Regions from separate parts of the Homo sapiens genome. Here region 1 is linked to region 2. The links are contacts of gene promoters, found by promoter capture Hi-C in blood cells and fetal thymus (Javierre and others, 2016). All regions are on one chromosome and are shown on one strand. Each heading gives the region's core, a stretch centred on a gene start or on the middle of the fragment in contact. The rest is flanking DNA. Distances are from core to core; before and after follow the strand shown.

Region 1 (2,996 bases), core at 314-2,813, 250 kb after region 2:
TTTTCTTTTTTTTGGAGACACAGTCTTTCTCTGTTGCCCAGGTTGAAGTGCAGTGACACAATCACGGCTCAATAGCCTCAATGTCCCAGGCTCAAGTGAGCCTCCTACCTCAGCCTCTTGAGGAGCTGGGACTACAGGTGCACACCACTACATCCAGCTAATTTAAAATTTTTTTTTTTACAGATGGGATCTTGATATGTTGCCCAGGCTGGTCTCAAACTTCTGGGATCAAGTAACCCTCTTGCCTTGGCCTCCTAAAGTGCAGGGATTACAGGTATAAGCCACCACACCTGGCCTCAAGTCATTTTTCCTTAAAGATATTCTAAGAGAAATAGGGGAGAGCTAAATCATTCACGGCCTTATAAACCATGTAAGAATTTAGAATTTTATTACGACTATGATATGAAGCCATTGGACAGTTTTGAGCAGGAGAGTGACATGATCTTATTTGCTGTATTTCATCTATTCTAAGGTACACATTTTCTCCACATTTTAGTCTTTCAAATTGGAACATATTTTAGAATCAATGGCATGTCACATAACTGGCAGAGTTTCTTCTTTTTTCCTCTTTTTGGCATGCAGAAAATTATGGTGTAGCTTGTAATCAATGGAGTCTAAGATTCAGTGACATGCAATATGTTCTAAAAAGGGGATTTTGGCTACTCTGTGGGAAAATAGCCTGTGGGGGCCAGAGCAGAAGCAAGAGACCAGCTCAGAGGGTACTGTAGTAGTCTAAAGAAGATTCTTCACTGGAATGTGAACTAGGGAAATAGAGGGGAGATAACGGCAGGCAGTCAGATGTGGGACATGTTTGAAGACAAGAGCCAACGGAGAATATAAAGCTTAAGGCAAAGAGAACAGTTTAGGATGACTCCTGGGTTTTTTGCCTCAGCAATTAGAAAAAAATGGCCATACTATTTCCTGAGATAGGAAAGACAAGTAAGAAGCATATTTAAGAAGAAAACTCAAACATTCTGTTTTTGCCATGTTAAGTTTAAAGGGCCTACGGTCACGCAAATGGAGACTCCTCAAATCACAGCCAACGTCTGCTACTTCTCCAAGCAACCCCAAACATGGGGTTGCAGGAAATACACATCTGCTTAACTGAAGGATCAGGCCAGCTTGTAGCATAAGAACTCTGCTTAATTTGTCTAGAAACAGAACCTACAGTGAAGATGTAGGTTTTCCTGAGCTGGTGATGATTCATGTTCTTTTTGGGATGTGGTAAAGTTACCTTTACAATAGTAGAGTACTGCTGGGAAAATTTTTGACATTGATCCAGTTTTGTCTGATTTCTCTCAATTTCTGCAAATAGGGCCTAGGAAGCAAAATATCACAACATTATCATTGCCATTACCACCATTGAAAGAGCTGAACATTTACTATGTTCTAAGGCAGTAGTTTCCAAACCTTAGCTGCATCAGAATTGCTGGAAAGGGTGGTTAAAACACATACTGCTGGGCCTCACCTCCAGAGTTTCTGGTTCAGTGGGTTTGGGTTCACAAATTTGCACTTTTTTGTCTTTTTAATCTTTTGTAGAAACAAGTTCTCGCTTTCTTAACCAGGCTGGTCTCAAATTCCTATCCTCAAGTGATCCCCATGCCTCGGCCTCCCAAAGTGCTGCAATTACAGGCAGAAGCCACTGTGCCCAACCCAAGAACTTGCATTCCTAACATGTCCCCAGGTGATACGGATGCTGCTAGTCTGGGGTCCACACTTTGAGAACCACTATTCTAAGTATTTTACATGTATCACTTCAGTTAATCCTAGCAACGATAATCTCATAAGGTAGGTTAAATAAATAACAAACTATGTCCATTTTACTGATAAGGAAGTAGAACACTGAGAAGCTAAATAACTTCTTCAAAGGCTTATAGTAGGTAAGTGAGCCAGAATTGGAATCCAGGCAATACAACTCCAGATCTCATACTCTTAACCATAATGCTAAACAAAACAAAACAAAACAAAATACCAACAAAAAAAAAATGCTTAAAATAAATCATTTTCAAAAAAAAAAGAATCATTTTCTTCTACTTACAATTTTCCCTTGGTTTTCAAAACCCCATATCTAATCCTAGTAAAATAAAATGTAATATAAAAAAAAACAAAATAAAGATAATTTTAATCTGTCCATCTAGTGGTTTCAATACAGTTACAGAAACTCAGAACTGAAGGTACCTTACAGGTTCTCTAGTCTAAATGCAAAACCAGTATCTTGGGACGATCCTGCTCAAACCACTCAAAGAAAAGGGAATTTGGATATCTTCCATTTGGAGGAAGCTTTAATTGCCAGTACATCATTTTCTTTTATGATAAAGAAAATTTAAATTTCTAACTCTTCTCGCCAGAGCTACTACCACACTCACCGTCTGCTGGCTGAGCTGCTCCGAAAGCACTCTGCTATCCTCTGCCTGGCCTGGCTTCATCATTTCCTGCTGGGCAGTGGTTTCCTCAATCCACTTGATGAGAGTTCCATGGCAGGCTCGGTAATCTCCCAGAACTTCCTGGATACTTTCTAGCTCAGATTGGCTAGAAGAACAAAGGGAAACTGCTATCAGATACCTTGGTACAAATACAATAAAGTAAATGAGGTAATTCCCTCTTTAACCCATGTATCCAGCTGGGCTTGACCACAAACGATCCATCTTTATCTACGGGGAACAGCGATGCAAGGCTGAGTGAGACCTATGCATGTACCAGTGCCCTATGGTCAAAAAAGTGAGTAGAAACCAGTTGTGACCTGCTAGCCCTGGATGCTGCCTTGTGGTCTAGCATCCCACAATAATCCTTGTCAAATTTTTCACCTAGGTTGCCAAGAATTACCAGGGTGACCAATAAGGTAGTATTGGCTGTACAGTTCTATTCCCTGATGACAGAGTACCTGTCAGTACAGCACAGCTATGATTTATGAATCACTATAATTTCTCAAGGAGAGAGGGGAGAGAAGTGAAAAATAGTCATTATTTCCTGCTACTTCCAATAAGTCATATCACTTC
Region 2 (2,978 bases), core at 83-2,582:
GACTAGAATCTAGGCTGCCTATCTCTGAGCTGGTCATCTCATTGAATTAATGGTGGCAGTCATTGGTTACCTGAACATTTTAGGACTCCTGTCCACACGTGGTATTCCAAAAGTGTTATCCTGACGTTGGTAAGAGCTTGTTAGAGTTTGTCCACCGAGGTCTTGAAGCATATGAGATATGAAAATAAATTGCTCAGTACTACTCTCAAGATGTTTTGTGGTTACCCGGAGTAGCTATCCACCAGGTATCAGGAAACATCTTTGAGTTCCTGGTTTTATTATTAGCCATATCATAGTGTTTCAGAACTTTAGCATCACCTGGGGACTCAAAGAAAACACCTAGATACCTTAGAGGTTGTGACTTAGTTGGTCTGGGGTAAATCCTGTGCCAGAACCCTGACCTAGACTCAGTGACTGCAGCAGAACCCAGGCTTTCTGGTTCTTCTGAATAGTTCCCTCCCCACCCAGGGACATCCTTTTTTTTCCTATTTGTAGGTTTGTTTTGTTTTTTTTGTTGGTTTGGTTGGTTGGTGTTTTTGTTTTGTTTTGTTTTGTTTTGTTTTGTTTTGTTTTGGAGATGGAGTCTCGCTCTGTCGCCCAGGCTGGAGTGCAGTGGCGCGATCTCGGCTCACTGCAATCTCTGTCTCCCGGGTTGAAGCGGTTCTCCTGCCTCAGCCTCCTGAGTAGCTAGGATTACAGGTGTGTGCCACCACGCCCAGCTGATTTTTGTATTTTTAGTAGAGACGGGGTTGCACCATGTTGGTCAGGATGGTCTTGAATTCCTGACCTCGTGATCCACCCACCTCGGCCTCCCAAAGTGCTGGGATTACAGGCATGAGCCACTGCGCCTGGCCCTTTGTTTTTTTGAGATGAGGTCTCACTACATTGCTCAAGCTGGTCTCAACCTCCTGAGCTCAAGCAGCCCTCCCACCTCAGCCTTCCAAAGTGCTGGGATTACAGGCACAAGCCATCACACCCAGCCAGGGACACCTTATTTCTTAAGTAGCTGGTCTCATTTTGTAGGTAATGCTGGAGGATGGAAGAAGCAAAGGGTTTGGCTTCGTCTGCTTCTCATCTCCTGAAGAAGCAACCAAAGCAGTCACTGAGATGAATGGACGCATTGTGGGCTCCAAGCCACTATATGTTGCCCTGGCCCAGAGGAAGGAAGAGAGAAAGGCTCACCTGACCAACCAGTATATGCAACGAGTGGCTGGAATGAGAGCACTTCCTGCCAATGCCATCTTAAATCAGTTCCAGCCTGCAGCGGGTGGCTACTTTGTGCCAGCAGTCCCACAGGTGGGTGTGCTGTTTGGTCACAGCTCTTGGGAACCTGCCGGCTGGCAGTATTCTGCAGTGGTTGGGGAGAGGGATTTTTCGTTATTAGAGTTCTAGAATGTCACAATAAGGACCCTTCAAGTAAAAATGAAGGACTTACCCATGGTCACAAACACACACCCACAGTGGCAGTGGTAGCATAAAACAGTCCCCATTAGCTGACCCCTCAGCTCTTGAATAGAAAGAACATTTAAATAATTAGCTTAGGTCCTGGTTAGTGAGATGAGATGAGATACTTCTCTAGGATGGGTTCAGTCCTTAAGGGGGTGTTTGGGTATTCTTCTGTCTTACAGGCTCAGGGAAGGCCTCCATATTATACACCTAACCAGTTAGCACAGATGAGGCCTAATCCACGCTGGCAGCAAGGTGGGAGACCTCAAGGTAGGTGGTGGGGAACAGTAATTGACAGCCCAGGATATACCTGTCCTGGTCTCCCCTGCCTTTCCTTCTTCCCCACTCTGAGGCACAGCCTAGGTTCTGGTCCACATCACTTCTCAATGATGTGCAATTTTTCTCTTCACCAGGCTTCCAAGGAATGCCAAGTGCTATACGCCAGTCTGGGCCTCGTCCAACTCTTCGCCATCTGGCTCCAACTGGTAATGCTCCGGCCTCTCGTGGCCTCCCTACTACCACTCAGAGAGTCGGTGAGCAAACTGGCCTTTAGAAGTGTGGCCTGGGGAGGAGGGAGTCAGGATGACTAGGCTCTGTCCTGGGTTGGTCAGTTTGTTGGGCTCGAATTTATCGAGTCCTGGTTCTGTAATCTTAGCTGTGTGCTTAGGTGGCCACTTCAGGAGCAGAGAAACAGTATGAGTTCTAGGTGTGTCAGTTGCTTTTAACATTCTTTGCTCATCGGTGACCTATGTGAAAAAGGTTAGTTGTAGAAGTTTGCTAGCTGGATGACCACAGAGGCAGCTTGTTCTTTTGGGTGGGGTGAGGAATACAAGGAAACAGTGTATACAGAATATGTCTTGTATTCCAAGATGTGGAAAGAGTTGTATGTTATCCTTTGGCTCATCCTCGAAAGTAGTAGTGGCCCCCTGTGCAATGTGTTGCGTAAACGTGCTTTGAAATTTCTCCTTCCGTGGGACGTGGCCAGTTGGACATCTGCCGCCAACACTGATGTGCATTTGCTGGTCTGTTGTAGGGTCTGAGTGCCCGGACCGCTTGGCTATGGACTTTGGTGGGGCTGGTGCCGCCCAGCAAGGGCTGACTGACAGCTGCCAGTCTGGAGGTGGTATTGGATGCACACAGAAGGGGGAAAGATGGGATTTGACGGGTCTTTGCCCAGACTGATGGGCTTTAATTGTATTTGTTCTTTCCCTAAGGCGTTCCCACAGCTGTGCAGAACTTAGCGCCACGCGCTGCTGTTGCTGCTGCTGCTCCCCGGGCTGTTGCCCCCTACAAATACGCCTCCAGTGTCCGCAGCCCTCATCCTGCCATACAGCCTCTGCAGGTGAGGTTCACCAGACAGAATGCTTAAAAGGATTTCCCCCATTTCCACTTGATGTAAAAGAAGCTGTGCTTTTGATTCCTTCAACAGGTATTAAATGCCTGCTCTGTGTTATGACGCTATGTTCTGATTCACTGTCCCTGCCCTTCAGGGGCTCACTAGTGGGAAAGAAGGGGCTTAAAAGTGCTCTGCC

Evidence for each region. Contacts are between HindIII fragments. The CHiCAGO score rates a contact against its expected background, and 5 or more counts as called.
Region 1: a fragment that was not itself captured here is called in contact with the fragment with the promoter of PABPC4-AS1 in region 2 in 1 of 17 cell types (M2 macrophages); the score reaches 5.2 in M2 macrophages.

What each region holds. Positions count from the first base shown.
Region 1 is chr1:39,317,986-39,320,981 of GRCh38, reverse strand. It overlaps MACF1 (microtubule actin crosslinking factor 1), which reads right to left. Exons shown (of 101, transcript NM_001394062.1): 30 at 2,367-2,529; 31 at 1,235-1,318. Among named protein-coding and RNA genes, the nearest start is that of MACF1, 110 kb to the right of the region's middle. The HindIII fragment of the contact is 1,438 bases long and covers 845-2,282 here.
Region 2 is chr1:39,563,424-39,566,401 of GRCh38, reverse strand. It overlaps PABPC4-AS1 (PABPC4 antisense RNA 1), which reads right to left and starts at 1,332. Exons shown (of 4, transcript NR_125979.1): 1 at 1,183-1,332. It overlaps PABPC4 (poly(A) binding protein cytoplasmic 4), which reads left to right. Exons shown (of 16, transcript NM_001135653.2): 8 at 1,024-1,296; 9 at 1,629-1,716; 10 at 1,860-1,979; 11 at 2,480-2,566; 12 at 2,661-2,788. The HindIII fragment of the contact is 13,463 bases long and covers 1-2,978 here.